Regions from separate parts of the Homo sapiens genome. Here all the other regions are linked to region 1. Evidence: promoter capture Hi-C in human tissues and cell types (Jung and others, 2019). All regions are on one chromosome and are shown on one strand. Each heading gives the region's core, a stretch centred on a gene start or on the middle of the fragment in contact. The rest is flanking DNA. Distances are from core to core; before and after follow the strand shown. Region 1 holds the start of SNAI1 (snail family transcriptional repressor 1). Region 2 overlaps KCNB1 (potassium voltage-gated channel subfamily B member 1). Region 3 has its middle 6.5 kb from the start of PTGIS. Region 4 has its middle 50 kb from the start of PTGIS. Region 5 has its middle 7.3 kb from the start of LINC01271. Region 6 overlaps B4GALT5 (beta-1,4-galactosyltransferase 5).

Region 1 (5,134 bases), core at 1,211-3,710:
CACGAAGGAAGAGAAATGGGTAGCCTTAGTCGAATAAGATGCCAATAAAGCCCGCGAATTGCCAGTCCTCCCAGACACCTCACTAACCCTCACCGCTCAGAGGTCAGGCGCCAGGCCAGGAAATGGCAGAACCTGGCCAGCTTGAACCCTGTGGAATCTTCTCCCTCAACTGTCACTCTCCAAAGAGCAGCTCCAGGCACAGTGGCTGCCACCATTCAAGTTCTAAAAAGTTCTACCTTTTCTCCATGTCCAGAAAGTTTTTTACACATTTAGTAAATTTTCAAAAGACGTGATTGTGTTTTCTGCCCCAAAGATGCCGTTTCCTGGTCTGTGTGCTAGGATTCAGTGGGGGTGGGGAAGCCGACCTGAGAACCGTTCGGGTATAATAAATTACTATAAAGTGATTAGCCACCTTTACAGCCACTCTCTAAAACATATGCTATCATAGTTTTCCCCTAAGGCTCAGAGAGGTTAAGTTGCTTGCCCAAAGTCACACAGCAAGGAAGCAGAGCAAATGCCAAGGAACCATTTTTGTGAGAGTTTAGCAGGTACCGGCACTTTGCCAGGTGCTTCCCATATGCATTCCTGCATTTAGCCTGTATAGAAACCCCAAAAGCTGTTCTCATGCCCATCTGAAAGATAGAGAAAATGAGGCTCACAGAAGAGAAACATCAGCCTAAGTTTTGAGAAAGTTCTCAAAGAAGGATTCAGAGCCAGGCGGGGGGTCTGACAACATCCTGTCTGGCTAGGGAGGGGGCGGACCCGGGAGAGGGTGTGGCCGGGTGGGCCCCTTCACACCTGGCCCCCACAGCAAGGTGTTGGTTGCACCTTTCCCATATCCAGCTCCGACCCATTTGGCTGAGAAACAGGCTGCAGGGGATTGGGAAGGTGTCTGCTTTGCCCATCTGCTTAGCTGATGAAGAAAGTTTCTGCCAAACGTTTCCAGAGAGCCAGGCCCTGGAACTTGAGCTAGAAGTTAGAAGACTCGGGGCCTCAGTGTCCACAGCTTTGGGAATGAGAACAGCAAGCCCAGATTCACAAAAGCTGCCAGAGAGAGCAACGGTGGGGGCGCCTGGAGGGGCACGTACCAGTGTGGGTCCGGACATGGCCTTGTAGCAGCCAGGGCCTAGAGAAGGCCTTCCCGCAGGTTCCGCAGACGCAGGGCAGCGTGTGGCTTCGGATGTGCATCTTGAGGGCACCCAGGCTGAGGTATTCCTTGTTGCAGTATTTGCAGTTGAAGGCCTTTCGAGCCTGGAGATCCTTGGCCTCAGAGAGCTGGGCCAGCTGCTTGGGCACTTGGCCCAAGCCTGGGAAGGCAGCATAGGCCTCGGCCTCCAAGGAAGAGACTGAAGTAGAGGAGAAGGACGAAGGAGCCGGTGAGGGTGGGCTGGGGGGCTGGGAGCCTTTCCCACTGTCCTCATCTGACAGGGAGGTCAGCTCTGCCACCCTGGGACTCTCCTGGAGCCGAAGGGAGGCCCAGGCAATTGGCTGGGCTTGGGGCGCCAGGACAGAGTCCCAGATGAGCATTGGCAGCGAGGCGGTGGGGTTGAGGATCTCCGGAGGTGGGATGGCTGCCAGCAGGTGGGCCTGGTCGTAGGGCTGCTGGAAGGTAAACTCTGAGGGAGAAAAAGCAGAGTCAGGCGTTAATTAAATCATTCACTCAATCAACAAACATGAGCCCACCGCTGGCCAGGGGCTGGGTGGGGCCGATTCTCAATACATAATTAGATCAAAAAAATTATCCACAGGACAGACCAGGTTCCTGCCCTCCTCGCCCAGGTCACCCAATCTGAGTCTCTCACACGTAGGACCCCCAGTTGAAGGAGGTCATTTCCTGATCTCCCTCTCCTAAGTCCCCAGTCTCCAGCCTGAGGCCAGAACCCCATCATCCCAGCCCCGGAGCCACCACCCTGCCCCAATCCCCCTCCTCACACACATCTCGTCTCCCCACCCCTCCCCTCAACCCTCTGGACTCCGGACTCTCCCCAGCAGCGTCCAGAGGGCCCTCCTGACACAGGCCTCCTCTCCTTCCCCTCTTGCGGAGCTCCTCCGCCTCTCGCCGGCTACAAAGGCCCCCCAAGCTGAAGACCCCTGCCCTCTACACGGCACTCCCCCAACCACCCAGACAGATCCCCGGAACTGGGGACCCACTTGCCCGGTCTCCCGAGCCCGCAATGGTCCACAAAACATCCTGTGACTCGATCCTGGCTCAGGCAGGCCGCCTCCCTCAGGTGCCCCCCACGCAGCCTTCGCCTGTCTCCCCCAAACCTCCTGGAGCCCAGAACCCCTCCAACGCACCTGGATTAGAGTCCTGCAGCTCGCTGTAGTTAGGCTTCCGATTGGGGTCGGAGGGCTTCCTGACGAGGAAAGAGCGCGGCATAGTGGTCGAGGCACTGGGGTCGCCGATTCGCGCAGCAGTAGCGCAGAAGAACCACTCGCTAGGCCGTGCCGCGGCGCAATGAATGCAGCAGCGCCGCCAACTCCCTTAAGTACTCCGGGGGGGTGGTGGGGGGTGGGAGGGGCGGGGCCTTATCTGCCACGCCCCTTTGTCACCTCCGCGCCAATCGGAGGCTCGTCTCCGCCGAAGGCCACTCCCCGAGCAGGTGCGCCGGCTGCTGGCCGGGCTCGCGCCGCGTGGCGGTGAGAGCCCGGGCGGGGACTCCTCCGAGGCGGGGTTCGCTGGCGCAGCGCGGGTCGTCCCCGGTGCTGGGGCTGTCCGGGGCGGGACGTCGAGCGAAGCGAGGCCTCTGCGAGGTGGGACCCCGGCAGGACGCCGCGCGCCCACCGGCTCAGCGCCCGGTGGTCTGAGCGCTTCTGACGCCCCCTGGCGCTGCGCGCCGGCCGGGACACCTGACCTTCCGACGCCCGCCCCCGCCTCGGGCTTGGGAGGGGGCGGAAATTTCCTCCGCCCGGCTGGCGCCTGGAGAGCGTGGCATTGACGAGGGAAACGCACATCACTGGGGAGGAAGCGAGGAAAGGGACACCGCACGTGGCTCTCGGCGGCTTGAAATGCCACGGCCTTTTTGCAAAGCAGCCTGGCCCAGCTAGCCAAGAGCACCCGTTCCTTCCCTTATCCAGTGTTTACGGAGCGCCCAGCACGTGTGGGGCACTGTACCTGGGGCCAGGGCACAGCCCCGGACAGAACACTCAGAGCCTCTCCCGAAGGGTAGCTTCTGGTCCAGTGAGGGAGACAGACGAAGTAAACAGATAATTACAATGCAAAGGGAAGTGTGCTTTGGTGGGGGAGAGACGGGACGCGGCGACCGTTAAGAGGCGGGTCACCTGACAGGGGGTCGGGGTGACTTCCCAGAGGAAGTGAAGAATTATCAAGGGAAAAGGCCCGAGGGAAGAAGTGGCAACTGCTTCAGAGTAACTCCTAGAGAGCAGCTTCCAGGGATGGGGTGGGATGGGCATGCCCGGAGGGGTCAGATGTGCTGGGCCCCAGGGCCTCGTAGGAGTTTGGACTTTGCCTCAAGGGCACTGGGGAGCCACCGAAGGATTTTCAGCTGAGGAGGGACCTGGTTAGAGTTTCGTTGAAAAAGATCCCTGTAGGCTGGCGGGAGAAAGAAGGCATGGGCCGGGCGTGTCTCCTCACCCCGTGAAGATCCTCGATCCTGTGTCTAAAGGCTGTAACACGGCTCCATAGGGGCCCTGACTGAATGCATGTGGGGTGGGCCCAAGTGAGGGGCAGCTGCACCCCCACCCCAGCTTCCCTGGGAGGCGTACCAGGCCCGGGGGTGGCTCTGAAATAAACCTCACAGGTCTCACCGTTCTTGTTTCCACCTGTGAAGGAAGACTATAAAAACCTATAAGCACCCCACACCACCACCACCACCAACCTGAAGGGCAGAACTACTGTCTGTTTAGTCACTTGGTGCCGGGTGTGACAGCCGTGAACAAAATCGTCCTCCCCTGGTTCTAGCTGGAGAGCGGGCAGTAGGGTGGGGGACAGAGGCAGTAAGCAGTCATTAAGCGGAATACTCCCCGTCCCGTGTCAATTTAGCTCCAATCAGGATCCTTTGCTTGAAGCCAAAGTGAGGCCAGATCACCCCCTCCTCTGCTCAAACCCTCCCATGCGCCTGTCTCAGAGTAAAAGCCAAAGTCCTCTCCTCAGCCAACTCGGCCCCGCTGCTCTGACCCCAGCTGACATTGGCTTGAGCCTCTCTCCCTCCCCCATGCACAAGGATCCCACCCCCAGCCTTCCTTCTGTTCCTCCAACATCCCAGACCTTTCCCACCTTGGCACCTGCTGCTCTTCCTCCTCTCCCCTACGTCTCTTGCTCCTAGATCTTCACGCTGGCTTCCTTTCATTCTTTGTTTCAGCAGCAACTTCACTAACTGCTCAGCCTCGTTTAGTGAAGAGAGAAATGGCAAATTCAAGCCACAGTGAGCTGCCATTTCACGCCCATCAGAAGGACAACAAGGAAAAATTTGGTCACTATCAAGAGTTGATGAGGAGGTGAGAGCTGGCGAGAGGGTCGGTGGGCATAGTCACTTTGGAAAAGTTTGGCATCAGCTAGCAACAGGTGACTCCTCTCCCTGTCTGTCCTCAAGCCAACTGCATCCCAGGGGCTGCAGCTGACAAGTCTGTCCTCAAACCAACTGCATCCCAGGGGTTCTCAGCTCTGGCAGCACATTAGATCCCCACAGGGAAGGATTAAAACACCTAAGCCTCGGCCCACCCCACCCCCACCCACATCTTGATTTAATTAGTCTGGGTGGGGCCTCTGGCATCAGCATTTTAAAAAACTCCCCTGGGGATTATAATGAGCAACCAAGCAAAGTAAAGAACTGTTGTCCAGCCCAAACCCCGAAAAAACAAAAAAGGATATTCATTGTACCCTCGTTCCTAATAGCAAAAAAAGCAAAAACTAAAACAAAACTGGATACAACACAAATGTTTATAAACAGTAGACTGGATTAATGAACCCTGGTGCAATCCTGTAATAGAATACTATACAGCAATAAAAATGAACTACAACTCCATGCAGCAACAGGGATGAATCTCAAAAACACAATGTCGAGCAGAGGTCACAAACAAATGCATAGTTATTTGGATTTATACGAGGTTCTGAAGCAGGCAAATGAAACCCTATATTATTTAGGGATGTATGTGGGGGTTGTAGAATTAGAAA
Region 2 (5,134 bases), core at 1,593-4,092, 510 kb after region 1:
CCATCACAGACTTGATTAAGAATCAGCTCTGGAGTCCAACAGATGCGGTTGATTTCTTGTCTCCATTGCTTACCATGAATATGACCTTGGGCAAGCCCCTTTCCTTCTCTGAGTGTCACTTTCCTTATCTAGGAAATGAGAATTATAACAGAGGCAACCATGAAGAGCTGTTAGGAGATGCCCCTAATGTAAAGAGCCTAGCCCAGCGCCTGACTCATGGGAAGCATTCAGTAAGTGGCAGCAACGATTGTTAGTGTTTTCACGGAATTCCTCTGCTCCAGCTACACGTCTCTAGTGTAATGAGGTTCCAGCTTCCTTGACCTGAGCCACAAGGATCTGTGTATTATCATCAAAAGAAATGCGGGAACCAACTCAGAATCTATGGGGCCCCTTCAGTGTGATGAGTCATCGACTTAGGCTCTTGCTGGCCCCAGCTTGGTCAAACCAGATGCCTGTTTTTATCCTGGCAGATAATATGCCAGCAATTCTGAATCCTGATTGTGGGGTCACACAGACCTGGCTTCGAATCGCAGCCCAGCCTTGTCCTAGCTGTGGACTTTGGCCAATTTGCTTCACCTCTCATCACTTCCATTTCCTAATCTGTAAGTGAGGGCGATAATAAAACCTACTCCACAGGGTTGTCTGAAGGATGAAGGATGATAGCACATGATCAGAGTTGAAGCTGTGCCTGAGAAATCCCACATCCCCACAGGATAAAGAAACCCAGAGACCCAGGATGCTCCAGTGACCTGCTGAGGATCACACAGCCCATCATAGCCTTTCAAATCCCCTGAGAGACCAGCTGCTAAGAGATGATCCTGGTCAAACATCCTGGAGTAACAGAAAGATCCCTGAGCCTCAGCGGGTACGGGTGGCGGGGCCAGAAAGGCCTGGGCATGGCCCCTGATCTTTCACCGACTTGCTGTGTGAATGTGAAATGCTAGGAAGAAAAAGAGATGGTCAAATGAATGGGTTGGCCAAAGCTTAACTAACTAGAAGAGAACAAGCATGCGTTAGGCACCAACTCCATACCCAGCACTTTGTGTACTTCCTGTACTTGATAATGTCATCAGGATGGGAAGCACTTGACCTTAGCACTGGATTGCCCAAGTTCAGAGTTTGGCTTCTCTACTCACTAACCATGTGATTTGGGGTCAACTATTGCAGCCCTCTGTGCCCTGGTTCCTTCAGCCAACAGCAATTTTGGGCCAATCACTGTGCCTGCCTCATTGGATTGAGTTACATGCATTAATGTATGCAAAGCACTTAGACTAGGACCTGGTATGTAGAAAGCTCTCAATAACTGTTGGGTTTTGCTGTTGTTGTTTTTTTTCTTTTTTACTGTCCTCTCATGTAATCCTCCTGACAATCCTGCAAGATAAATAAGCTCCTTTTCAAAAAACTGCTCTCATCAAATGATACCTGCTCATTGTAAGGTTAGAGGCTTTCTCTGGCCACTGGAGTCCAGTAAAGGCAGGGCACTAACACCCCAGCAGGAACTAGTGGGATACTCACCTGCCGGCTGATGGGGACGATGTGTACGTGCTTCTCCCCTGGCTGGGGGTATAACTCAGAGGTGTGTGTTCTACACTGGTCCCCAGGGCAGCTTCAGTTGCTCACAGCAATTACTTGTTTGATAACAGACCCTGTTTGACCTCTTTCCTATCCCTGTCTCATGTTCCCTCCCCTCTTCCAGAGTTTTCTGGGATCACTTATCATATAAGCCACTTGTACTCAGAACCTTGTCTTAGGATCTGAGATTCTGGGGAAACCAACCAAAGCTCTGTAGGACATATCATTTATTCAGAATGACCTGGTGTTGTATTATAGACAGCCCACCCCCGATAGAGAGAACCTCTAGGAGGTTGTCGTAAAAGAAGAAATTCTAGGTCTGGCAGGGCACAGTCAGCCTCATCTCTGTCTCTTAGATAAAATGAAAACCACAGTGGTGGCAGCAACAGCTAACACTGAGTGCTTACAATGTGCTTGCCTGGCATAGTGCAAAGGGCATTAAATGCCCCATCACATCTGATTTTCACAGCCCCCCCATAAGGGAGGGATAACTACCCTCATCTTACAGCCGTGGAAACTGAGGCTCAGAGAGGGGAAGTGTCTGGCCCAGGGTCACACAGTGAATGGAAGGCTGGGACAGATCCCACCCAGGACTCCCTGACTGCCCAGCCCATGACTTTGATCTCTGAGTTGTATGAGTGACCTTCAGAAAGTGAGAAGCAAGATCCCAGTATTCCCTTCTCATGCTGGGGCAGTGCTGAGAGGAGAGAGATTTGTCCAGAATCACCCTATGACTTAGGAGTGTTCTTAGCTCTGGATCTAGGACGACTTTACCCCCAAAGGCTCCTGGATGGGACTATGGGAGAGACAGATTTAGCATTAAGCATTATTTTAATAGATAAACTAAATGCATAAGGTCCTACCTTCTCCCTGAGGTGAAATCAACTTGATTTTGGTGTCTCCAGCAGGAGTGGGCATGACTAGGTGGGGCCAGAAATGGGAGGAATCTCTCAGCCCCCGTATCGGGAGTGGGTGGGGTGGGAGCTAGAATTCTCATGTTAATATCCAGGGCGCCAATGCTCCTTAAATGTTTTCTCTGATGACATAAATAACAAATAAGATGTAATGTTGCCATGTGAGACACACTTCTGTGGACCTGGGTACAGGCCTGGATTCAAATCCCACCTCCTCTGCTTCCTGGCTATATGAGCCCCCAAGGCGCCTCACCTCTCTGAGACTGGGAGGTGGGGGTAATACCTGGGGCACACCTCACAGAGTAGCGCTTCTCCATGCTGCCTGCACATAAGGATCACCTGGGCTTTGCAAAATACTCATGCCTAGGCCCCACAGTTGAAACTCACCCCCTAAGTGGTTTCTTTTTAGTTCTGGTAAAATACACATAATATGAAATTTTCCATCTTAACCGTTTTAAAATGTATAGTTCAGTAAAGTATATTCACATTGTTGTCCAACCAATCTCCAGAACTTTTTCATTTTGCAAAACTGAAACTCTGTGCCCATTAAATTCTCCTGGGCCCACCTCCTAGGCCCTGGCAACCCCCTTCCTACTTTCTGTCCCTTTGAACTCAACTGTTCTAGGTACCTCATATAAGTGGAATCATACAGTATTTGTCCTTTTGTGACTGGCTTATTTCACTTATCATGCTGTCCTTCAGCTTCGTCCATGTTGTAATGTGTCAGAATTTCCTTCCTTTTAAAGACTGAATAATTTTCCATTGTATGTATACACTACATTTTGTTTATCCATTCCTCCATCAAAAGACACTTGGTTGCTTCAGCCTCTTGGCTATTGTGAATAATGCTGCTATTCACATGGGGTACAGATATCTCTTAGAGTTCATGCTTTCAATTCTTCTGGGCATGGATAAGCAGAAACCAACTAGATTTTTAACAATTCTTTTGGGTATATACTCAGAAGTGGAATTGCTGAATCATATGGTAATTCTATTTTGAATTTTTTGAAGAACTGCTGCTCTGTTTTTCATAGTGACTGTTACCATTTTACATTCCCACCAATGGTGTACAAGGGTTCCAATTTCTTCCTATCTGTATTAGTCCATTTTGCATTGCTATAGAGAAAAACCTGAAGCTGGGTAATTTATAAAGAAGAGAGTTTTATTTTGGCTCACAGTTCTGCAGACTGTACCAGAAGCATAGTGCTGGCATCTGCTTCTGATGGGGCCTCAAGAAGCTTACAGTCATGCAGAAGGCAAAGGGGAAGCACGTGTGTCACATGAAGAGAGAGGGAGCAAGAGAGAAGCCAGGCCTTTTTAAACAAGCAGATCTCACAAGAACTCATTACCGTAAGGAGGGCATCAAGCCATCCGTGAGGGATCCACCCCCATGACCCAAAGACCTCCCACTAGGCAGGCCCCTCTTCCAACATTGGGGATCACATTTCAACATGAGATTTGGAGGGGACAAATAGCCACTATATCAACATCCTTGTCAATGCTTGCTATTTTTTTGTTTACGTTTTTTTTTTTAGTAGCTATCCAAATGGGCATGAGGTGGTATCTCATTGCAGTCTTGGTTTGCATTTCCCTGATGTTTAGTGACGCTGAGCATCTTTTCATGTGTTTTTTGGCCATTTGTATATACTAGCACCCCCTTATCAGGATGCCTAAACCTCGGATAGTACCAAACCCTGTATATTATATGTTTTTTCCTACACATACATACCTATGATAAAGTTTAATTTATAAATTAGGCACGGTAAGAGATTAACAACAAAAACTAATAATAAAATAGAATAATTACAACAAAATACTATAATAAAAGCTATGTGAAAGTGGTCTCTCTTTCTCAAAATATCTTATAGTATGTAATACTTTTGGACCACAGCTGACTGCAGGTAACTAAAACCTTGGAAAGTGATATTGCTGTGATAAGGGGGGACTACTGTATTTTCTTTGGAGAAATGTCTACTCAAGTACTTTGCCTATTTTTAAATTGGGGTTTTTGTTGTTGTTGTTGTTATTGAGTTGTAAGAATTCTTTATATATTCTGGATATTAATCCCTAATAAGATATACGATTTGCAAATATTTTCTTCCATTCCATAGGTTGTCTTTGCACCCTGTTGATTGTGTCCTTCAATACACAGAAGTTTTGTATTTTGTTGAAGACCGAGTTGTCTGTTTTTTCTTTTGTTGCCTGTGTTTTGGTATTATATTCGAGGAATCTTTGGCAATAGGGGGAAATCATAAAGCTTTTCCCCAAATTTTTTCTGAGAGTTTGACAGTTGTAGTCTTATTTTAGGTCTTTGCATGTGGTGTGTAAGATAAGGAACCAACTTCATTCCATTGCATGGGGATATCCCCATTTTCCCCACACCATTTGTTGCCCTGGGTGATTCTGCACACGGCCAGGAAGCCCAGCCACAGAAGACAACATGGGATGGCGGAGATCAGAGGTGCTAAGCTGTGGAGCACCATGTGCAGTGCTGGGAACAGAGGGAGTCGCCATCTGGGGCAGCTGCTGTTATCATTGTTGCCAGGATAAGGGGCAATCTCTGACACACCCAGCATGGCTCATCCCTTCCTCTTCCACTCAGGACGGCTTGGCAGAATGCAAGTGAGAGAGTGAGATGCAAGTGTGAG
Region 3 (5,134 bases), core at 846-3,345, 410 kb after region 1:
GTTCTCCTAAGATGTTTCTTTCTTTCTTTCTTTAAATTTGAGACGGAGTTTCACTAGTTGCCCAGGCTGGAGTGCAATGTCATGATCTCAGCTCACTGCAACCTCTGCCTCCCACATTCAAGCGATCTCCTGCCTCAGCCTCGAGAGTATCATGTTGACCAGGCTGGCCTTGAACTCCTGACCTCAGGTGATCCACCTGCCTCGGCCTCCCAAAGTGCTGGGATTACAGGCGTGAGCCACCACACCCAGCCTCCATTCAATTCTTTTTTGAATTTATGCCAATATGATTTGGATATAATTTTCATCCATTTTGTGTTAACACTTTCATCTATTGGTAGATTTTTCTGCTCTTCATAATTTATCATAATATCTTTGTATCAAGGCTTTTACACTTTTTCAAAAGCTTGTCATTGGAAGGGCTTGGTTTTCCTGGGTCAGGTATTTTGCTGATTGCTCCTATGGGTGTAAGGAAGAATTAGGGTAGCTTCATGGGCTCTGTAACTGTGGCTCTCCTCTGCTGCCATAGAGACAGACTGCTTCCTGCAAATATGTCTTCTCTCTGTAATTCTTCACTATACCTCCTCTGTTTCTCTGAACCAAACGAGATCCAGGAGAGCTTCTGCTGCTAATCGTATTCACCCAAGCTTCTACATTCATTTTTATAAAGAAGGAACATAACTTTCATCTCATGGCAAGCCCTCATCCCTAGGAAGTGTAGTTTTGCTGATGCTTTCTGAGATTTGCTATCACTGAGCCCACTCACCACTCCCATGTGGCTTCTGCCCTGTCTTAGCTGCTTCACACGTACTCTGAAGCCGATGAATTATATGTCTCTCCTGGCTTTGCTAAAAATGGAGTTTGTGGTTTGGTTTTGTATATTTGTTTTTCCATTATTCTTGATGCTCTGGTATAATTTCTAGAAGGAGAGGGTAAATGTGGCCTTAGGCAGCCATTTTTCTACCCCCACTATCTAACTGGATCCTCTTTAGTAACTCCTTGACATAATAAGCAAAGCAGCTATGACTGCTGTCCCATTTTCAAGATGAGAAGCCAGAAGTTCTGAGGTTCTTGGGGTGCTTCAGGGTGGCAGGAGCATCATCACTCAGGGTCTGTCTGGGTGACAGATCAACATGGGTCTCTTTTCTCCTTGCCTTCCATGCTAGGCTGGCTCTCAGGCAGGACAGCAGGGAGTTGAGGAGACTGAGGTCTGACTTCATCATTTTTTCCACTACAAAGTGCCAAGGCAGCTGGTTGGGAGCCGTGAGGCCACCTGTCCCCCGTCCTGGGAAAACCAAAGGATGAGAAGCTTGCTGGAGTCCCTCTCCTGTAGCACCCACCACCTCTGGCAGATAGCCTGGGAAGAGGGGCAAGACCACTCCAGAACATCCTCTCACAGGCTAAGACAAGGTCTAGGTGGAATTAGCCTGGGAACGCTGAACGAAAGGCCGCCTGGCCCAGCCATGTTTGCATCTGGGTAGCTGCCCCACCTCTGGGCTCTTAGCCAAGCACATTCCCTACATAATCCTGGCTCTCCTGGGGAAGGATGCTGGAGGATGGCTCCCCTGCAGCTGACATCCTTGCACTTTAGAGACCTTCAAATCTCCAAAGGCCCAGGCCTGTGCAAATTCTTAGAGACAGTCAGCAGCAAGGCCCAGATGGCAGAAAACAGGTCATTTCTTCCAACCCTCTGCCTCTGATTCAGACCTGCTTTCTCTTCATGTATAAAAAAGACCAAGTGAAGAGGTTTTCTGTCTTTCATTTCTTCAGTAAAATTCTTGATAAAGAGGCCTGCACAGTGTTGGCAAATAAATACTTGGTAATATGTGCTGAAAGAATTATGCTTCATCTCTTTTGTTGTTGTTGCTGTTGCTGCTGCTGCTGTGTTGTTGTTGTTGCTAAGACAGGGTCTCACTCCGTCGCCCAGGCTGGAGTGCAGTGGCACAATCTCGGCTCACTGCAACCTCTACCTCCCGGGTTCAAGCAATCCTCCCACCTCAGCCTCCTGAGTAGCTGGAATTACAGGCGCACGCCAGCATTCCTGGCTAATTTTTGTATTTTTAGTAGAGACGGGGTTTCACCACGTTGGCCAGGCTGGTCTTGAACTCCTGACCTCAAGTGATCCACCCATCTCAGCCTCCCAAAGTGCTGGGATTACAGGCGTGAGCCACTGAGCCCAGCCTTGCTTCATCTCTCTTTCTTTTCTTTTTTTTTTTTTTTTGAGACAGAGTTTCACTCTTTTGCCCAGGCTGAAGTGCAGTGGCGCGATCAACCCCCGCCCTTCTGGTTTCACATGATTTTCCGGCCTCAGCCTCCTGAGTAGCTGGGATTACAGGTGTCCCCTACTACACCCAGCTAATTTTTGTATTTTTTAGTAGAGACGGGGTTTCACCATGTTAACCAGGCTGGTCTCGAACTCCTGACCTCATGATCCTCCTGCCTCAGCCTCCCAAAGTGTTGGGATTACAGGCGTGAGCCACTGCAGCCGGCCTAGCATCATCTCTTTTATTAAGTGCCTACTGCATGCACTAGACACAAGATCTTCTTGAATTCGTCCAACCACCATGGGAGGGGGGCCTTGTCGTCATCATCCTCTTGTACAGATGTACCAAGGCTCCAAGAGTAGAAAGCAGCCTATTCTAATTTAACTGGTACAAAGAACATTCAACCAAAAGGATTCTAAAAAGTTCAGAGATAAAGTATACATTAGTCAATTCTTGTTGCTTAAGAAGATCTCAAAATCTCCATGACTTGTAACAACACGTACATTTTTCTTCTTCGGACCTCTGCAGGTCAGCTAGGGGTTCTCTACTTCAGGCTGCAGGTTGAGCTCAGGTTTGCCCTGTGGGTCATGGCTCAAGGCAGAAACCAAGGTCAAGTGGAAATATGTGATTCCTCGTGAAACCTCTGCTCAGAACTGGCAACTGGTCATTTCTTCATCCTCCACTGATCAAATTGAGTCACAGGCCCGAGTCCACCATCACTGAGTCAGGGAGATACTATTCTCTGCTCATAGTGGGAGGCACCGCAACCCTGCAGCCAAGGGCGTGAATGTCTAATTCTGATACAGGGAGTGGGTAAAAATTGGAGACTATGATCTAATCTACTGCAGCACAGTTCCAGGGGTGGCTAATTAATTGTGTGACTTAGCAAAGATTCTCCTCAGGCTCCAAGGTGGCTGCCACAGCTCTGACCCAATCTCTGGCCACTCACACGCTACGCTGAGGTGTGGTGATAGCGTGACCAACCTTCCTGGTTTACCCAGGACCGAGAGGTTTCCCAGGATGCAGGGCTCTCAGTGCTAAAACTGGGAAAGTCTGGGCAAACCAGGATGCGTTGGTCACTTGACGTGTGTAGCAGATTGTTTCTGAACGTTTGGGGGTAACTGGGGCAACATGTGAGTGTGTATGTGAGAGTAGTGCATGTGTGTGTGTGCGTGTGTATGTATATGAGTGTATGTGTGGTGTTATTCCACAGCCCAAGACAGCAAACAACTAAACACTCAGTATGACACATCACCAATAGAAATGGTCATTTATTGGCTCCTAATTCCACAGAGGATGTCACACTGGGACAGGCCCCCAATCTGTGCTCATGTCGGCCTGGTCTTTGCCCCCTCTTTCAGGCTGCCCCCTAAAACTCTGTTGTCCTTCCTTAATTCTACAGAGCAATTTTGTTCAACATCCCAACTCCAAACCTATTTTACATACCCCAAATGTTTAAACCACTGGCCCTTGGCACAACTAGACTGCAGGGCTAAAAATCTGGGGGCAGGTGTGTGCTGTTGGTCTATGCAGCGTTTTAAAATAATTGGAGCCATTATTTCTGGCTTCTCTTGAGTCTAAAGATCTGGCCACACTAGGCATGTATTTCTACGTGGCTTTAGTTGGCTGGTACTGCCAGAAGCTGCTTCCTTTTGGATGGGGCAGCCCTCTCTAGTTTTCCATTGTTCCCATCCCTCCCTGTTGCCTTCCTGATATGACTGGCTCACTTCATTCATTTGCAATACTTGCTCGAAGACTTGAGTTTACCACTCTCTCTTTAGCAGCACAAAAACACCAGAAACGTTGCGGTTTGGGTCTCTCCTTCCCCTCCACCTCTCAACCTCGTTTAGCTTCTGTAAGTGGAAGAATTTATTCTTGCATTGTTCCAGTTTTAGACGGCAGCTGTGCTTCCTTTCGTAGCTGCAGCAGCCATGAAAACACACCTCTGGGACCTCCCTTGGTGGAGCCTGATTGACAGATATGCCATGCTTCCCAGGGTTTGCTCCTAGCCAATCACTGGGGGAAGCAGACTTGTTCTTGGGAGACATAGGGCTCCTCAGGAGGCTCAAGGACAACCTGTTAGCCTTGAACTAACTTACTTACTTTCTTTTTCTTTCTTTCTTTTTTCTTTTTGACAGAGTCGCTCTGTCACCCAGGCTGGAGTGCAGTGGTGCGGTCTCGGCTCACTCTAATCTCTGCCTCCTAGGTTCAAGCAATTCTCCTGCCTCAGCCTCCCAAGTAGCTGGGATTATAGGTGCCAGCCACCACTCCTGGCTAATTTTTTGTATTTTTAATAGAGACGGGGTTTTCACCTTGTTGCCCAGGCTGGTCTTGAACTTCTGACCTCAACTGATCCACCCACCTCAGCCTCCCAAAGTGCTGGGATTACAGACATGAGCCACTGTGCCCGGCCAGACTTGACCTTTCTAAGAATGCACTGCAGCCCACGGTCCCTTCTTTCCTCTGTCCCTTCCTTCCATTTGTCCTCCTTTCTGTCCCTTTCTCCCAGCCCTCTCTGGCTCCCTCTTCATTTTACTCCCTGGCACTCCCTCAATAAGCCTTTAGTATATCTCATCTCATCTTGGCTCTCCTGGAGAACCTGCTCCTAACCGATTTGGAAAAATCAAAAGGTAGAGAAAGAGAGGGCTTCCAGGCAGGTAAACAGCATGAGCAAAGGTGTGGAGGTGGGAAGGCCCAGGGTGTGTTTGCAGCACCAGGGAGTAAGTTAGCTTGTCCTAAGAAGCCATCAAATTCCCATGCTCTAGCTTATCAAAGGAAGTACTACGTGACCTTGGGTGAAGTGACTCTTTCTGGACCTTGATTTCACCATCTGTGAATTCGGAATAATTTTACTACCCATTTTATAGGTTCTT
Region 4 (5,134 bases), core at 990-3,489, 360 kb after region 1:
GACGCTGATCGATCAGAAGAGCGGTACAAGTAGAACACACCACTCAGTGGCAAGTCCTTTCTCCACAGATGATGACTCAGGGAAGGTCCCAGAGCCTCTGGCAGGTCACAGAACCTCTGGCAGAGCTGAGGTGACCCCAAGCTCTCCTCTTCACAGCTCTGCTCCTCTTCCACCTGCAAACCAAGAGTCACAATGGAAGGGCCCAAGGTCTGCAAAAACCAAAAGTGTGTCAGCAGGACGGGACACTGAAGAAGTGCCACTCTTAGTTGTGGGAGTCTTTGTGGCTTTGGTTGCAATTACGTGGGAGTGTGCTTTTTAGTCTGACACTGTGCTGCTCTTATAATTGGAGGATCAGGTCATTGGCATTCAAATCAGTCCCTCCCGAGAGACACTGCCAGTCTAGTTTCTGGTAAGTTTCAATTTTCCTGTTGCTGCAGAGCCCCAGCTTTACATACTTTTGAAACCTTGGCCAGGAGCAGTGACCTGAAACAGTGAAACTGCTCTCCTATTCTAAATTTGAACTGTTCAGCCCTCTGGGTCTGAAGCTTCCTGCTTTTCGCTTGCTGGCTTTTTGGGGCAGAGTGGGGCTGCTTTCACTTGCTCACTCGCTCACTCAGTCATGTATTTATTCATCAGACATCTCTGATGTTGCTGACCAAGGGCTCAATGTCTAGACAGAGAGATGAAGATGACCCTGCCCTCAAATGGCTCATGCCCAGATCAAGGAGAGAGATGGTTAACTGATCCACTTCCTAATGCTTCAGTATGAATGACTTATCTTCTCACTTATCACTCACTGCACCCCCACTTTGGAATCAGTTCAGAACGCTTTGAATGTCCCAGAGGAGAGTTTGCTGTCTATTCCATAGGCAGTGGGCAGCCAAGTTAGGTTCTGGAGAAGGAGAGTGGCATGATTAAAGGTGTACTTTAGGTTTGTTTATCTGGTTGCATATCCATCCATCCATCCCCCATCCATCCATCTATCCCATCCATCCCATCCTCTCATCCATCCATCCATCCTATCTATCCATTACCCACTCATCCGTCCATCCATCCATCCATCCATCCCATCCATCCATCCATCCAGCCATCTATCCTATCCACTCATCCATCCATCCATCCAGCCATCTATCCTATCCACTCATCCATCCATCCATCCATCCATTCCATCCATCCATTTATCCATCCACCCATCCCATCTATCCATTACCCACCCATCCGTCCTTCCATCCATCCATCCCATCCATCCATCCATCCATCCATTCATCCACCCATCCATCCCATCCACTCATCCATCCATCCATCCATCCCATCCATCTATCCATCCATCCATGTCATCCACTCATCCATCCATTCATCTCATCCATTCATCCATCCCAACCATCCATCCCCCACCCACACATCCATTCATCCATCCATCCATCTCATCCATCCCACTCATTCATCCATCCATCCCATCCATCTCATTCATCCATCCATCCATCCATCGATCCAACTATCCATTCATCCATCCATCCATTCACCCTATCCATCCATCCCCCACCCACCCATTCATCCATCCACCTATTCATCCATCTATTCATCCATCCTATCCATCCCATTCATTCATCCCTCCTATCCATCTCATTCATTCATCCCTCCATTTCATCCATCCATTCATCCCATCCATCCATCCCATCTATCCATCCATCTCATCCATCCATCCCTCATCATCCATCTATCCATCCATCTCATCCACCCATCCATCATCCATCTATCCAACTACCCATTCCAGCTATTCATTACCCATCCACCCATCCATTCATCCATCGGTTCATCTCAACCATCCATTTATCACATCCATCCATTCATCCCATCCATCTATCATCCATCCATCCCATCCATCCCATCCATTCATTCATCCATCTCATCCATCCATCCATCCATCCAATATTTATTGAGCATTTTCTATGTGCCAGGCACTGTGCTGTGTGTACCTGGTTTCCATCTAATGCACTGAATAAGAAAGATATTAAATCCCTGCCTTCATGGGACCAACATTCTGGGGAAGAGAGGTGGATAGACAATAAACAAGTCAACAAGTAAGTGAGCTCCCGACATTGCTGAGTTATGAAGGGAATAAACAGGATGATAGGGTTGAGAGTGACCAGGGTGAAGGGTGAGGTCCTTCAATTAGATGATCAGGGAAGTGATCTCTGGAAAGGTGATGGTTGAGCTGGGCTTTAAAAGAAGAGAAAGAGGCAGTTATAGGAAGAGCAGAAGGAAGAGAGTTACAGACAGAAGAAACAGCAAGTGCAAAGGCCCCTAGGCAGGAAAGAACTTGGCTTGCTGGAGAACATGAAAGGAAGCCAATGTGGCTGAATAGGAAGGGAGGAGGGAAGGCTGGAGAAGAAGATGGGGCCTTGTAGGCCAATGTGAGGACTTGGGAGTCTTTGGAAAGGCAGCCAGAGGCCACTGGAAGGTTTCCAGCAGGCAAGTGACATGTTTTGATTTATGTTTCTGAAAGTTCCCCCGGCAGCATGGGAAGCAAATGTAGCAGCAAAAAAAAAAAAAAAAAAAAAAAAACCCCAAAAAGAAACAGCAAGGAGGTCAAGGGTGAGGACGGTAGCAGCCTGGACCAGGGTGGTGGCCATGGGGTTACAGAGAAATGGAAAACTCAGGACAAATTTTGGAGGTGGTGGGAGGGAAACAGAGGACTTGAGAATGATACGTCACTTTGATGCTTGAGCTACAGGGTGGTGTCACTGAGGAACAAAGACTGGAGAGTGCGGAGATAAGGAAGGAGGAATGAAATAAGTCTTTGTGGGGAACCAGGCTGTGTTTTTAGGATATTTCAAGTAGGTAACTCGACATTCAAGTCCAGAGCCCTGGAGAGAGATCAAGGATGCTGTTGGGAGTCTGAGATGTATCAGAACACATGTTTGTTTAAAGCCACTGAGTTGGAGCTGCCAGGGAGGAGGAGGAGAGGCAGGGCCCATGGAGCATCTAGTGTCAGGAATAGAGGCTGTTTCAAGAAGGATGTTTCGAGAAGGAGAGGGAGGTCAATAGTGTCAAACGTTGCTGAGAAGTGGCTCTGAGCACGGGATCCCACACTGGGACTTGGCAGCAAGGATCACAACACCAAGAGCCATTTGGTGACACAGGGGATGAAGGCCTGCTCAAGGGCACCGAGGAGAGGGTGGCGGTGAGGAGAGGGTGGCCGTGTAGAGAGGGTGGTGGTGTGGAGAGGGTGGGGTGTGGAGAGGGTGATGGTGTGGAGAGGGTGGGGTGTGGAGAGGGTGATGGTGTGGAGAGGGTGGGGTGTGGAGAGGGTGGGGTGTGGAGAGGGTGATGGTGTGGAGAGGGTGGGGTGTGGAGAGGGTGATGGTGTGGAGAGGGTGGGGTGTGGAGAGGGTGATGGTGTGGAGAGGGCGGGGTGTGGAGAGGGTGATGGTGTGGAGAGGGTGATGGTGTGGAGAGGGTGGGGTGTGGAGAGGGTGATGGTGTGGAGAGGGTGATGGTGTGGAGAGGGTGGGGTGTGGAGAGGGTGGGGTGAGGAGAGGGGGTGAGGTGAGGAGGGTGCAGGGTGAGGAGGGTGGCGGGGTGTGAAAGTGGGTGGGGGAGTATGCACAGCTTCCACCAGAAGTTCAGCCTTAGGTGGGACGGAGGACCAGGGTGCTTGTTGGAAGATGATGAGGGTCAAGAGAGTACACTGTGCGTTTTTTTGTTCTTGTTTTTGTTTTGTTTTGTTTGAGATGGAGTCTCACTCTCTTGCCCAGGCTGGAGCGCAATGACGAAATCTGGGCTCACTGCAACCTCTGCCTCCCAGGTTCAAGTGATTCTCCTGCCTCAGCCTCCCAAGTAGCTGGGACTATAGGCAGGCACCACCACACCCAGGTAATTTTTGTATTTTTAGTAGAGACAGGGTTTCGCTGTGTTGGCCAGGCTGGTCTTGAACTCCTGACCTCAGGTGATCTGCCCACCTCGGCCTCCCTAAGTGCTGGGGTTACAGGCATGAGCCACTGCGCCCGGCCACGTTGTATGTTTTTTTTTTTAACACAGGAGATCCCGGGAGGAAAAGAAACTGAGGCTGCACAAGACAGGCAACTGGGTTCCAGTAGTACCAATTGTGTGCTCACTCTCTGTGTGACCTTGGGCACGTTAGAGGGACATTCTGGGCCTCAGGTTTTACATCCCTAGAATGGGCTCCTCGGGTCCCAGGTGACTTACATGTTGAGGTGAGCTCGTCCTGGGTGGGAGAGGTCCCCAGGACAGGGCAAGCTCCAGCACAGAGCCAGCTTCTGTTTGCGATTGTCCCAGGCTGTCCCCAAGGAGGCCATCAGGCCCCACCAGTCTCACGTTACTGCACTGACAATCCTGCCTTGCTCTGAGGTTCACAATCAGACCTGGCTGGTCCCTTGAGGCTCAGTCCTGAATGCTGCACTTTGCTGGGGGGGTTGGGGGGGGATTAGAGCTTTAGAGTCTGAGGGGCTTCCAGGTCCAGGCAGAGGCTCTGGAATGACAAGGACTTGGATTTCACCCTGGCTCTGCCACTTCCTGGCTTGGGGACCTTGAGCAAGGACTTTACCTCTTTAGGTCTTAGTTTCCTCATCTGCAAAACAGGAATCACCATGCATCATGATCATCACCCGCTATTGAGAAGATTAAGTAAGAGAATAGCTGTAGAATGCCTAGCACATATTAAGTGCTCAATAAATGCTAGCTGGCTTGCCCTATCTATCTGTCTTGCTTATAGAAACCGAGTTCTGCTTAGGAGGCTCTCTCTTCTTGTGTCCTGTTACCTGGGTGGAGCCTGGGCCCCTGGGGCTCTGATGGGCAGCCTTGTCCTCCGCCACACCCACAAGAGTCTAGTCCTGTGGGGCCCACAGCCTTCCCCACTGTCTGCACTTACCTGTCCCGCCTTTCTGCCCTCCGGTCTAAACTCGGTATCAGCAATTGGCCAGGATTCTACCCAGCACAAAGGGAGGGGCACTGCGGCCTGGGGCTTGCACGAGACAGCAGGTGCACCGCAGGCCAGGGAGGGCAGGGGACTTGCCAGAGGCCACACAGCACAGGGAGGAGGGCAGATTTGGGGGTAGTTTGTCACTCTGGCTTCTGCAGGACATCCAGCTCATGTGGCAGTGGCTGTGCTTGG
Region 5 (5,134 bases), core at 1,001-3,500, 350 kb before region 1:
CCATACTCTAGCCGGGTGATCCTGGGGGCGTGTTACTTAGTCTCTTTGAGCCTCAGTTTTCCCCTCTGTGCAATGGTGACCGTGACACCCCCTCACAGGACCACCGTGAGCACTTAGTAGCGGCCCCCTTTCTTACCCCTCACCCTGCAGAACAACTCTGGAGGACAAAAAGAAACACCGTCCCCAGCTGTCCACAGAGAGCCCAGAGCCAGCTTCATCTATTAGCTTCCCCTCCTTGCTTCAAAAAATGAATCTACTCTGGGAGACTTGGGGGTCCACCCAGATAGGGATCATCTCTGTGCCTGGCCATGGTGCTCCCCACCATGCCTCCATCATGCCCCTCCCCTGTGGACCGCAGAAGCCTCCGGGGCTCGCTTGACAGGTTACGCCTCAAAGTTCAGTTCAGTTGCAGCAAAGTTAAGTTGCTGACTTGCCAGCAACTTCCCACCCTGGCTGGAGCAGGGCCAGGCAGGGAGGAAGAACAAAGGCTTTTGTCTGCCCAGCCTCAGAGGAGGGTGAGAAATAGAAATCCTGCCCAATCATGTGGAAGCCCCCAGAGCTCCCTGCTCGGGCTTGGGGCCAGGGGAGGCAAGTCAGGGCAGCCACGTGAGAGACCCACAGCACAGGGATGGGAAGCGACGCTGGGAGAAATGTCCATCCGCCCACCATCTATCCACCCACCCATCTACCCATCCACTCACCCACCCATCCGCCCATCATTCCTTCCATCCGTCAACCCTTTCATCCACCCATTAGTATACCCTTCTATCCATCTATCCATCCATCCCTTCCCTCTCTCACTCCCTTGATCCATTCATCCACCCACCCATCTACCCATCCATTCATCCATCTATCCACTCCTCATTCCCTCCATCCATCCACCCACCCATCTATCCACCCACCCGTCCATCCAAATATCCATCCAACCATCTATCCGTCCATTCAGCTGTCCATCCATCCATCCATCCATCCATCCATCCATCCATCCATCCACTCATCTATCCACCCACCCCTCCATCCAAACATCCATCCAACCATCTATCCATCCATCCATCCATCCATCCATCCATCCATTCATTCATCCATCCATCTATCCATCCACTCATTAATCTACCCATCCATTCATCCATCTATCCCACCCTTCCTCCCTCATATCATACATCCATTTCTCCACCCATTTATTCATCCATCCATTCATCCACCCATCTATCCATCCCACAAGCACATATTGAGCATCATGGAGGCCAGGCCCTGGGTTGGGCACTGGGGATACAGCTGTGAACAAAGTCTCTGCTCTCATGGTTCTAATATTCTAGGCAGGTAGTGGACAAAAAGAAACTATATAAATACGTAATATAATGACAGAAGGTGATAAATGCTAGGAATAAAAATAAACCTAGGTAGGAAAGCAACACGCAGAGCCACTATAGATGGAGTGGTCAATGAAGACAAGAAATGATAGGCTAGATCTGGCAGGGGAATAAGTACAAGGGCCCTGAGGCAGGATTGAGCTCAGCATGTTGGAGCGACAGCCTAGAGACCAGTGAGGTCATCATGAATGGAAGGAAGGGGAGGGGAGCAGGGGGTAAAGCTGGAGGGGCTCTGGGAGCAGGAGACCCAGCTCTGTATAGTCAGAGGATGGTTCCTCTCCTTCTTTGGACCTTGGTCTTCTTATCTGTATAATGAAGTCCTGGGTGAGATCATCCTTTCCTATCTGAGGCTCTGGCATTTAAAAAAGATGGTCTTGCTCTTTCCTGGGGATCTATAGGAGCAGGGTCTAGACTGTAAAGGTAAAGAATGCAGGCTCTGGGCAGGCGCAGTAGCTCATGCCTATAATCCTAGCACTTTGGGAGGCTGAGGCAGGCAGATCTCTTGAGCTCAGGAGTTTGAGACCAGCCTGGGCAACATGGAGAAACACCCTCTCCACAAAAAAAAAAAAAAAAAAAAAAAGCAAAAATTAGCCTGGTTAGGTGGTATGTATCTGTAATCCCAGCTACTCAGGAGGCTGAGGTGGGAGGATGGCTTGAGCCCAGGAGGTAGAGATTGCAGTGAGCTGAGATCATGTCACTGCACTCCAGCCTGGGCAACAGAGCCAGACCCTGTCTCAAAAAAAAAAAAAAATACAGATTCTGAAGTCAAGGCATTTGATCTCTCTGAGTCTCAGTGTTCCCAACTGCAAAATGGGAATAATAATACCCCTTCATGGAGTTCTTAGCAGGATTTGATGGGATGGTGCCGGTAAAGCGTCTATCCCTGACACCTTCCTCCCTGGCCACTGTTATATAATTAGGTAAAACAGCAGTGGTAGCTTCTATTGATCCTCAACTCAGAGGCAAAGTGTACAGAGCCCTCAGATGCCCCTCAGTGGGGATACTGGCCTTGGCTGGCAGGGCAAGGCTGGCACAAGCCTGGGGGCTGGGTCTCCAATGTTTGGCTCTGATCATAAGGGGATTTCTGTGGGGGAGTGCAGATAGAGCCCTTTGAGCAGCTCAGAGGCCTCCTTCCTGTACAGGCAGCTCTGCACCAGCACACAGCTGGATTCTCGTTCAGTTATACCACGTCCAGTGCTGTGGCCTTGAGTTGTGTGTATCCCTCTCTGAGCCTCGGTTTCCAAGTCAGAAGCTTGCTTGGGTTCTCATCCCAGCTCATCTGGTCCATTCCTGCCTCAGGACCTGATATGATTTGGCTGTGTCCCCATCCATATCTCATCTTGATTTGTAGCTCCCATAATCCCCATGTGTAGTGGGAGGGATTCCGTGGGAGGTAATTGAATCATGGGGTTGGGTCTTTCCCATTCGGTTCTCATGATAGTGAATAAGTCTCAAGAGAGCTGATGGTTTTATAAAGGGCAGTTCCCCTGCAATGATCTCTTGCCTGCCACCATGTAAGACGTGCCTTTTCTCCTCCTTCACCTTCTGCCATGATTGTGAGGCCTCCCCAGACCTATAAGTGGAACTGTAAGTCCATTAAAGTTCTTTTTCTTTGTAAATTACCAAATCTTGGGTATGTCTTTATTAGCAGTGTGAGAATGGACTAATACAGGACCTTTGCATGTACCGAGTTGGTCCCCACTCTTCCAGCTCCTTGTCCTCTTTCAGTGTGCTCTTCCAGCTCCTTCTCCTCTTTCAGGGCTCAGCTCAAATATCACTGCAGGGAGGCCTTCCCTGACTTCCCACACCAACATAACCCTGTCCCCATTCATACTGTGCCCCTGCACATGGCTTGCTTGCTTTCAGAATACTCCTGAACACTTTCTGAAATCATCTGCTATTTCCCTGTTTGCTTCTTTATTGCCTGTCTTCTCGACTATGATGTCAGCTCCACCAAGATAGAGACTGGATCTGTCTTATCCAGTGTCTCCAACAACTATTGCAAAGTAGGTGCTCAGTAAATATTTGCTGAATGAATAATGGGGACTTAACGACTCCTTTGGTTTTCTTTTAAAAGTTTTGCCACTTAAATATTAATTTTAATTATACAATTAACCCATTATTATATTCTTAAAAATATTTTTTACAGTTACAGCTTGTAGTTAAAATCCCCTTTGATGTCCATCCTGGACATTCCCCAAGGGGGTCATGTAATGAGTTTAGCATCCTTCCATATTTACTTCTGTGCACTTACAATGAAATGTCTACCACTGTTGTTGGTAGTGTGTGCATGTGTGTGAGTGTGCATGTATGTTCACAGTAGATTAGATAGAGCTAAGAGTTGAGAGCAACATAAACAGCTCTGGGTAATTGTGGTAGTTAAATTTTACGTGTCAACTTGACCAGGTTACAGTGTCCAGTTGTTTGGTCAAACATGAGTCTAGATGTTGCTATAAAGATATTCTGTGCTGGGCTGGTGGCTTACACCTGTAATCCCAGCACTTTGAGAGGCCAAGGCGGGCGGATCATGAGGTCAGGAGTTCGAGACCAACCTGGCCAACATAGTGAAACCCCATCTCTACTAAAAATACAAAAAAAAAATTTGCCAGGCATGGTGGCAGGCACCTGTAGTCCCAGCTACTTGGGAGGCTGAGGCAGGAGAATCACTTGAACCTGAGGGGCGGAGGTTGCAGTGAGCTGAGATTGCACCACTGCATTCCAACCTGGGCAACCCAGCAAGACTCTGTCTCAAAAAAAAAAAAAAAAAAAAAAAAGATATTCTGAGCCACGCATGGTGGCTCACACCTGTAATCTCAACACTTTGGGAGGTCAAGGAAGGCAGATCACTTGAGTCAGGAAGTCGAGACCAGCCTGGCCAACATGGCGAAACCCCATCTCTACTAAAAACACCAAAAAATTAGCCCGGCATGGTGGGGGACGCCTGTAATCCCAGCTACTCGGGAGGCTGAGGCATGAGAATCACTTGAACCCGGGAAGTGGGGGTTACAGGGAGCTGAGATTGCACCACTGCATTCCAACCTGGGCAACAGAGTGAGACTCCATCTCAAAAAAATAAATAAATAAATACAAATAAAAATAAAAGATATTTTGTAGATGGGCTCGATAATGTGTGTGGGCCTCATTCAATCAGTTCAAGGCCTTGAGAGCAAAATCCAAGTTTTTGGTAGAAGGAATTCTGCCTTAAGTGTGTATCATAGAAGTCTTGCCTGAGTCCCCAGTCTGCCGGCTTGCCCTACAAATTTCACATTTGCCAGCTTCTACAATTGCATGAGTCAATCCCTTTAAAAATTGAATTAAATATAAATAGATATACACACACGCATCCTGTTAGGTTTTGTTTCTCTGGAAAGCCCTGGCTGATACAGTAATTTAAACAGAGAAGCAGTCTATTCAAAGTACTTTATGAGGGGAAGAACAATCAATCCAATAAACAAAAATGGCCAAGACTCGAGTAGGCATTTCACAAAAGGGGATACCCAAAGGATCAATAAACACACAGAGGTGATCAACATCCTTGCTCAGCAGGGAAATGCAAATGAAAACTTTGATGAGATAACCACTGTACACCCACTAGAATGGCTAAAATGAAAAATATGGAAAATACCAAGAGTGGATGAAAATACGGAGCATTTAGAAAAAACCCTCATACATGACTGGTAGAAATGCAAAATGGTGCAAGCACTTCAGAAGACACTGGCAACTTAATAAGGTGAAACATACACTTGCCATAAGACCCAATGAGA
Region 6 (5,134 bases), core at 1,457-3,956, 280 kb after region 1:
TCTGAAAATATTAAATGGAAAATTCCAGAAATAAACATTTCACAAATTTTAAATTGTGCACCATTCTGAGTGGCGTGATGAAATCTTTCACCATCCTGCTCTGTCCCCCTTTGTCTTGCCTGGGATGTGAGTCATTCCTTTGTCCAGCATACCCACGCTGTATACACATTTAGTAGTCGTCTGGATTATCACATCATCATCGTGGTGTCACAGTGCTTGTGTTCAAGTGACCCTTATTTTAATTTTATTATTTGTAATACTTTTGAATTTTAATCTTATGGCCAGGTGTGGTGGCTCATGCCTGTAATCCCAGCATTTTGGGAGGCCGAGGCTGGAGGATCGCTTAAGCCCAGGAGTTTGAGACCAGCCTAGGCAACCTGGGGGAAAACTTGTTTCTACAAAAATACAAATAAAAATTAGCCAGGTGTGGTGGCACATGCCTGTAGCCCCAGCTACTTGGGATCGCATGAGCCTGGGAGTTTGAGGCAGCAGTGAGCCATGATCACTCCAGCCTGGGCAACAGAGTGAGACTCTCTCAGAAAAATTAACTTTACTTAATTACTTTTATTATTGTTATAATTGTTCCATTTTATTGTTGTTGTTGTTGTTGTAAACCAAATTGTAAAACCATTTTATATTTGTTGCAAACCAAAAAGTATCTGAGACAGGTCTCAATTTATTTAGAAGTTTATTTTACCAAGGTTAAGGGCATGCACCCAGGCCCAAGGTCTGTGCCTTTCTCCTAAGATGATTTTGAGGGCTTCAGTATTTAAAGGGGGAGAAATTTTAGGAAGGCGTGGTAGATAGGAGGCAAATGGTTACATTCTTTTGAGTCTTTGATCAGCTATTCACATGTGGCGGGCAAGGGTGGGGGGCAGCGGAGGAATAGTCCCTTATGCATTCATCTAGCTCAGTGAATCTGCATTTTTACATAAGACAAAATATACTTACCGGGCAGAGGAAGTGATGAGATTATGCATTTGTCTCAGGTAAGCAGAGGAATGACTTTAAGTTCTGTCCTTTGTCCTATACCTGTGAAGATAAGCTGTCAATTTACGTTGTCAGGGTGAAATTCAGCAGAGTGGTTGTAGGGTAAGGATGTTGAGGTCCACAAGGAATTTCCTATTGGGCAGATTGTGAGGGAGGTAGGTTTGCATGATGCCGTTCCTACCTTGACTTTTCTCTTTGACTTAGTGGGTTTGGGGTCCCCAAGTTTATTTTCCTTTTACATTGTTATTCATCTTTTACTGTGCCTAATTTATAATTTAAACTTTACCATAGGTATGTGTGTATAGGAAAAAGCAATGTATTTAGATCTGGTACTACCTGCAGTTTCAGGCACCCACTGGGGAATTTCAGAACGTATCCCTTGAAGATAAGGGAGGACTGCTGTATGATTCATAGCACAGTTTCAGATTAATCATGTCCGATGCAGTCAGATGCTTGATGGTTATATGGGGCCTGGTTTGTGGGCAAATGACTAGTGGGGTTTTTTTTTTTTTTTTTTTTTTGCCCATTTAGGATTCAAGATGGGTTTTAACCTTTTAAGTTACAATTAAGCACTTTGTGTCGTACAGTATGTATACAATAATGCTTTGAAATGGCTAGTCATGAATGTATTAATGGTTTGTCTTGCACTGAAACCTGAAATGTAGATGAAAAAGTTGATAAACATAAGGCAATCAGTACTGATTGTCATTGTCATCTACCCCAGTACATTCTAAGTGTGGTAGATACAGTAATTCTTATATGTTGCTATTAACGTCATTTCTGATTTTTGATTAGAAAAATATTTAGGTTAATGGCTTTCTTGTTGGTTTCAAATTTATAGTAAAAGCTATACCTTTATGTCTTGAATCTGCTTGCCAGTCTTTGCTTTGATAGGTGGTTTTTGCTTAGGCTACGATAAATTGTTTCATCTTTTCTAAAGAGGGATGAGGAAGTATTTACTTTGTGAAATTGGAAAACCGTGTGGTTGGTGTGGAAAATAAGCATGTTATTAATAAACAGCTAGTCTTGTGCTCCATACTCTTGGATGTAAGGTAGAAATAACCTTGCCTCTATTGCTGAGATTTAAAAAAATAAAAAGCTAGGCTACTACCCGTGCCTTCCTCGTCCACAACACAGGCACAGGGTGGCAGGTAGTGATGAGAAACAGGCTGCCAAGATGGTCCCTGGATGACTAGGAGGTGTGTGATGTGCGTCCAGTTGTCTGGATGGGGCAACTGGAATCCTTCATTGTGTGGTTCATGCTTGTGTGTGTGTGTGAATGCGAGAGTGGGAGGAAGTTCAATGTTTTGGCTTTGGTGTGGGATTAATTTTCTCTTCGATTGTTAATTTGGCATACCTGACTTTTTCATTCTGGTTTAAAGTATTAGAAATCTTAAGATTTGTGTGAATTAGAAGATTGGGATTTATTTGAATTTCATTTGGCACTAGGGAAAATTCACTTTAGGTAAGAGCTACTTTTTGGGTTGGCTTTATGTTCAAAGCAGTTTTTTCCTTAAGAGTTTCATTTTATTATGGAAATTTTCTTTTTTCTTTTTTTATTTTTTTGAGATGGAGTTTTGCTCTGTCCCCCAGGCCGGAGTGTGGTGCCACCGTCTCGGCTCACTGCAACCTCCACTTTCCAGGTTCAAGCAATTCTCCCACCTCAGCCTCCCGAGTATCTGGGATTACAGGTGCGTGCCACCATGCCCGGCTAATTTTTGTAGTTTTTACTAGAGATGGGGTTTCGCCATGTTGGCCAGGCTGGTCTTGAACTCCTGACTTCAGGTAATCTGCCTGCCTCTGCCTCTCGAGTAGCTGGGATTATAGGCATGAGCCACCGCGCCCGGCTGGAAATTTCCAAACATATAAAAGTAAACTTAATAGTACAGTATAATGGACCCCATGAACAAAAGTAATTTTTCTAACCTCAAAAGCAGGGGCAGTTTATTTAATCAGGTAAAAACTGAGCCTTAAAAGTCAGACTTTGCTAAAAGAAAACAGTATTTTTTTCACTGTCCTGAATATAACATTAAGGAAATAGGATTTGGTTAGGTCTAGATAACATTTAATAATTTCAACTGTGTTAAAGACAAAAGTAATTTTTGATGTGACCATGGACTTGTCATGAAAAATATAAAGGTGAAAGGGATTCCATCCCCCTTCCTCTAAACAGAATGGAACATAAGCACAGGTTTAGGCTAATTCATAACCTGGATTTTTAAAGCTTTTACATAGTTGGGTTTCATGTTGTTCAGATGTCTTACTAAACCAGGTATCTAAATGAGTGTTTTTCTGTTAAAAAAAAAAAAAAAAGGACATGTCCCCTTCCTCTGCCATCCCTTAATCACGGGGCTCCACTGGAATAGAGATGGGCGGATAAAGAAGGAAACTTAGTGTTAGCAGCTCCAGTGAACTGGTATGAGGTAGAGGAGGGTTGAAGCCATTGATCACAGTGACGTTTCCAGAGGATTTAAGCTTTCCCATTGTCCCATCCTTCATTTGAACCCTCAGAATGTACAGCCAGAAGTCCAAGAGCAAGCGTCTCTGCGAAGGGTAAACCTTCCAGGCTGTGCTCCCTCAAAGGCGCCGCTGCGCTTGAGGAGCAGGTGCTGTGGCTGCTGAAGTCAGGTGCTCTGGGAGCAGACAACAACTGCCTGGGTGTGTAGCACCTGTGTCCTTTTGGCTCCCCTGGCCTTGTCTTCTGAGACTCTGTTGTTAATTTCTTTAGCTGTTTATGTCAGCTTTGACCAAAGCCCACTGCAAAGCTTAGAAGGGTAAGGAGGCAACAATATCCCTTTGAAGACTTATTTTGGCACAGATTTTGTGATTTGTGAATAGTAACATTCCTCAGTAGCCACAAATTAAACAACATCGATCTAATTTTGGTATTAATTAGTTGTATAATTAAAATAGTAAAACCATCTGCATAGATTGAAGCTATAGTTTCAGGTTGTATTATATGTGTGAAAAACCGACTCTTCATTGTGAATTTTGAGTAGACTTCCCAGTAGATTATTTATGTAAGCTGTGTCATCAGAAACATTCCAGAATGAATCACGTTTAATTAGGATCTAACAAATGTTACCACCTTTGTTCTGTTGAACAATATTTTTAAACCATTAAATCAACTTGGTTGATAAAAGGAAATTGCAGTAATTTATTCATAACCCTTTCATCACAAGTGTTTTCACTTGTGTCCTTGTCATTGTATACACAGATATTTGAAAATTTTGCACCTCAGGAATTGCTGGGCTGGGAGAAAAAGGATGGCAGCAATTTAAATCTGTATTTGTGCTAGAATAATCTTTTACAATCTCTTTGCTATAAGATCTTTTCCTGGCCAGTTCTGTTTTCCCCACTATAACGAAACATCCTGTCTTAATATAAGATTATTTCTGGCAAGGGATTCTTGAAAGCTGTAAAGAAAACATACCTGCTGTCTTTACCGATAATGTGGAAAACTTCATGGGAAATTCTAGCCCCTTCGATGTCAAGTCTATTTAATCTCATTCCTTTACTATTAATAAATTTAAATAGATGAATTTCAAATCTCATTAAATGTTACAACAGTATGTCTAATTAGTTTTTTTCTTTCTTTGATTGGATTCCACAAAGTAGAATAAAGCTCTTCTCAGAAACCTGTTTGGACTTAGTAATTATTTTTCTCTAGATTGTTATTTTTTCTCTAGTTTGTCAAGAGTGAGTAAACTTTGAATGATTGAGAGTCTGTTATGACATAGGTCAAATCAATTGAGCAGGACCAAAGAGTTGGGCTACCCTGGTCACATTAACTATATACATTTACTGCGATTATTTCCATTGTTTCTTCATACACAGCTGTGTGACACAGCGTGCCTTTTGCATCGGTAAAGGAGTTAAATCTGTAGTTAATTTGTGTGGCATTCTCTAGGCTGAGCCAGGCTTTCTTAGCCCTTTGGAAGATCCCACATGGAAGCATTAGACATAATGAAAACTCAGCATATTTCTTTGCTTCTGAGTTGTTGGAAATGATTAGATTGAAACTCAATGTGTTGTTTTCTTTTCCCACCCCCACCCTTTAGAAAGGTATCTGTATGTACAGAATGGGAATATCATTAATGTCATGCAGTTTATTCTTTTCTACAAAGGTGATTATATTAAATAG

What was found. Contacts are between HindIII fragments. The study calls those that stand out against the background at their distance.
Region 2: a fragment that was not itself captured here is called in contact with the fragment with the promoter of SNAI1 in region 1 in 2 of the 25 tissues and cell types used here (lymphoblastoid cells and spleen).
Region 3: a contact is called between a fragment that was not itself captured here and the fragment with the promoter of SNAI1 in region 1, in 1 of the 25 tissues and cell types used here (spleen).
Region 4: a contact is called between a fragment that was not itself captured here and the fragment with the promoter of SNAI1 in region 1, in 1 of the 25 tissues and cell types used here (lymphoblastoid cells).
Region 5: a contact is called between a fragment that was not itself captured here and the fragment with the promoter of SNAI1 in region 1, in 2 of the 25 tissues and cell types used here (lymphoblastoid cells and mesenchymal stem cells).
Region 6: a contact is called between a fragment that was not itself captured here and the fragment with the promoter of SNAI1 in region 1, in 1 of the 25 tissues and cell types used here (bladder).

The regions. Positions count from the first base shown.
Region 1 is chr20:49,980,306-49,985,439 of GRCh38, reverse strand. SNAI1 (snail family transcriptional repressor 1) reads right to left here and starts at 2,460. Exons shown (of 3, transcript NM_005985.4): 1 at 2,299-2,460; 2 at 1,089-1,616. The coding sequence starts at 2,380. RefSeq lists a silencer at 2,446-2,965 and an enhancer at 3,118-4,055. The HindIII fragment of the contact is 23,979 bases long and covers 1-5,134 here.
Region 2 is chr20:49,471,458-49,476,591 of GRCh38, reverse strand. All of the region lies in intron 1 of KCNB1 (potassium voltage-gated channel subfamily B member 1), which reads left to right. Among named protein-coding and RNA genes, the nearest start is that of KCNB1, 8.6 kb to the left of the region's middle. The HindIII fragment of the contact is 4,785 bases long and covers 450-5,134 here.
Region 3 is chr20:49,572,085-49,577,218 of GRCh38, reverse strand. No RefSeq gene overlaps it. Among named protein-coding and RNA genes, the nearest start is that of PTGIS, 6.5 kb to the right of the region's middle. The HindIII fragment of the contact is 3,141 bases long and covers 525-3,665 here.
Region 4 is chr20:49,615,846-49,620,979 of GRCh38, reverse strand. No RefSeq gene overlaps it. Among named protein-coding and RNA genes, the nearest start is that of PTGIS, 50 kb to the right of the region's middle. RefSeq lists an enhancer at 84-153 and a silencer at 284-333. The HindIII fragment of the contact is 7,433 bases long and covers 1-5,134 here.
Region 5 is chr20:50,326,096-50,331,229 of GRCh38, reverse strand. No RefSeq gene overlaps it. Among named protein-coding and RNA genes, the nearest start is that of LINC01271, 7.3 kb to the right of the region's middle. The HindIII fragment of the contact is 9,236 bases long and covers 1-5,134 here.
Region 6 is chr20:49,695,745-49,700,878 of GRCh38, reverse strand. All of the region lies in intron 1 of B4GALT5 (beta-1,4-galactosyltransferase 5), which reads left to right. Among named protein-coding and RNA genes, the nearest start is that of B4GALT5, 16 kb to the left of the region's middle. The HindIII fragment of the contact is 5,555 bases long and covers 1-5,134 here.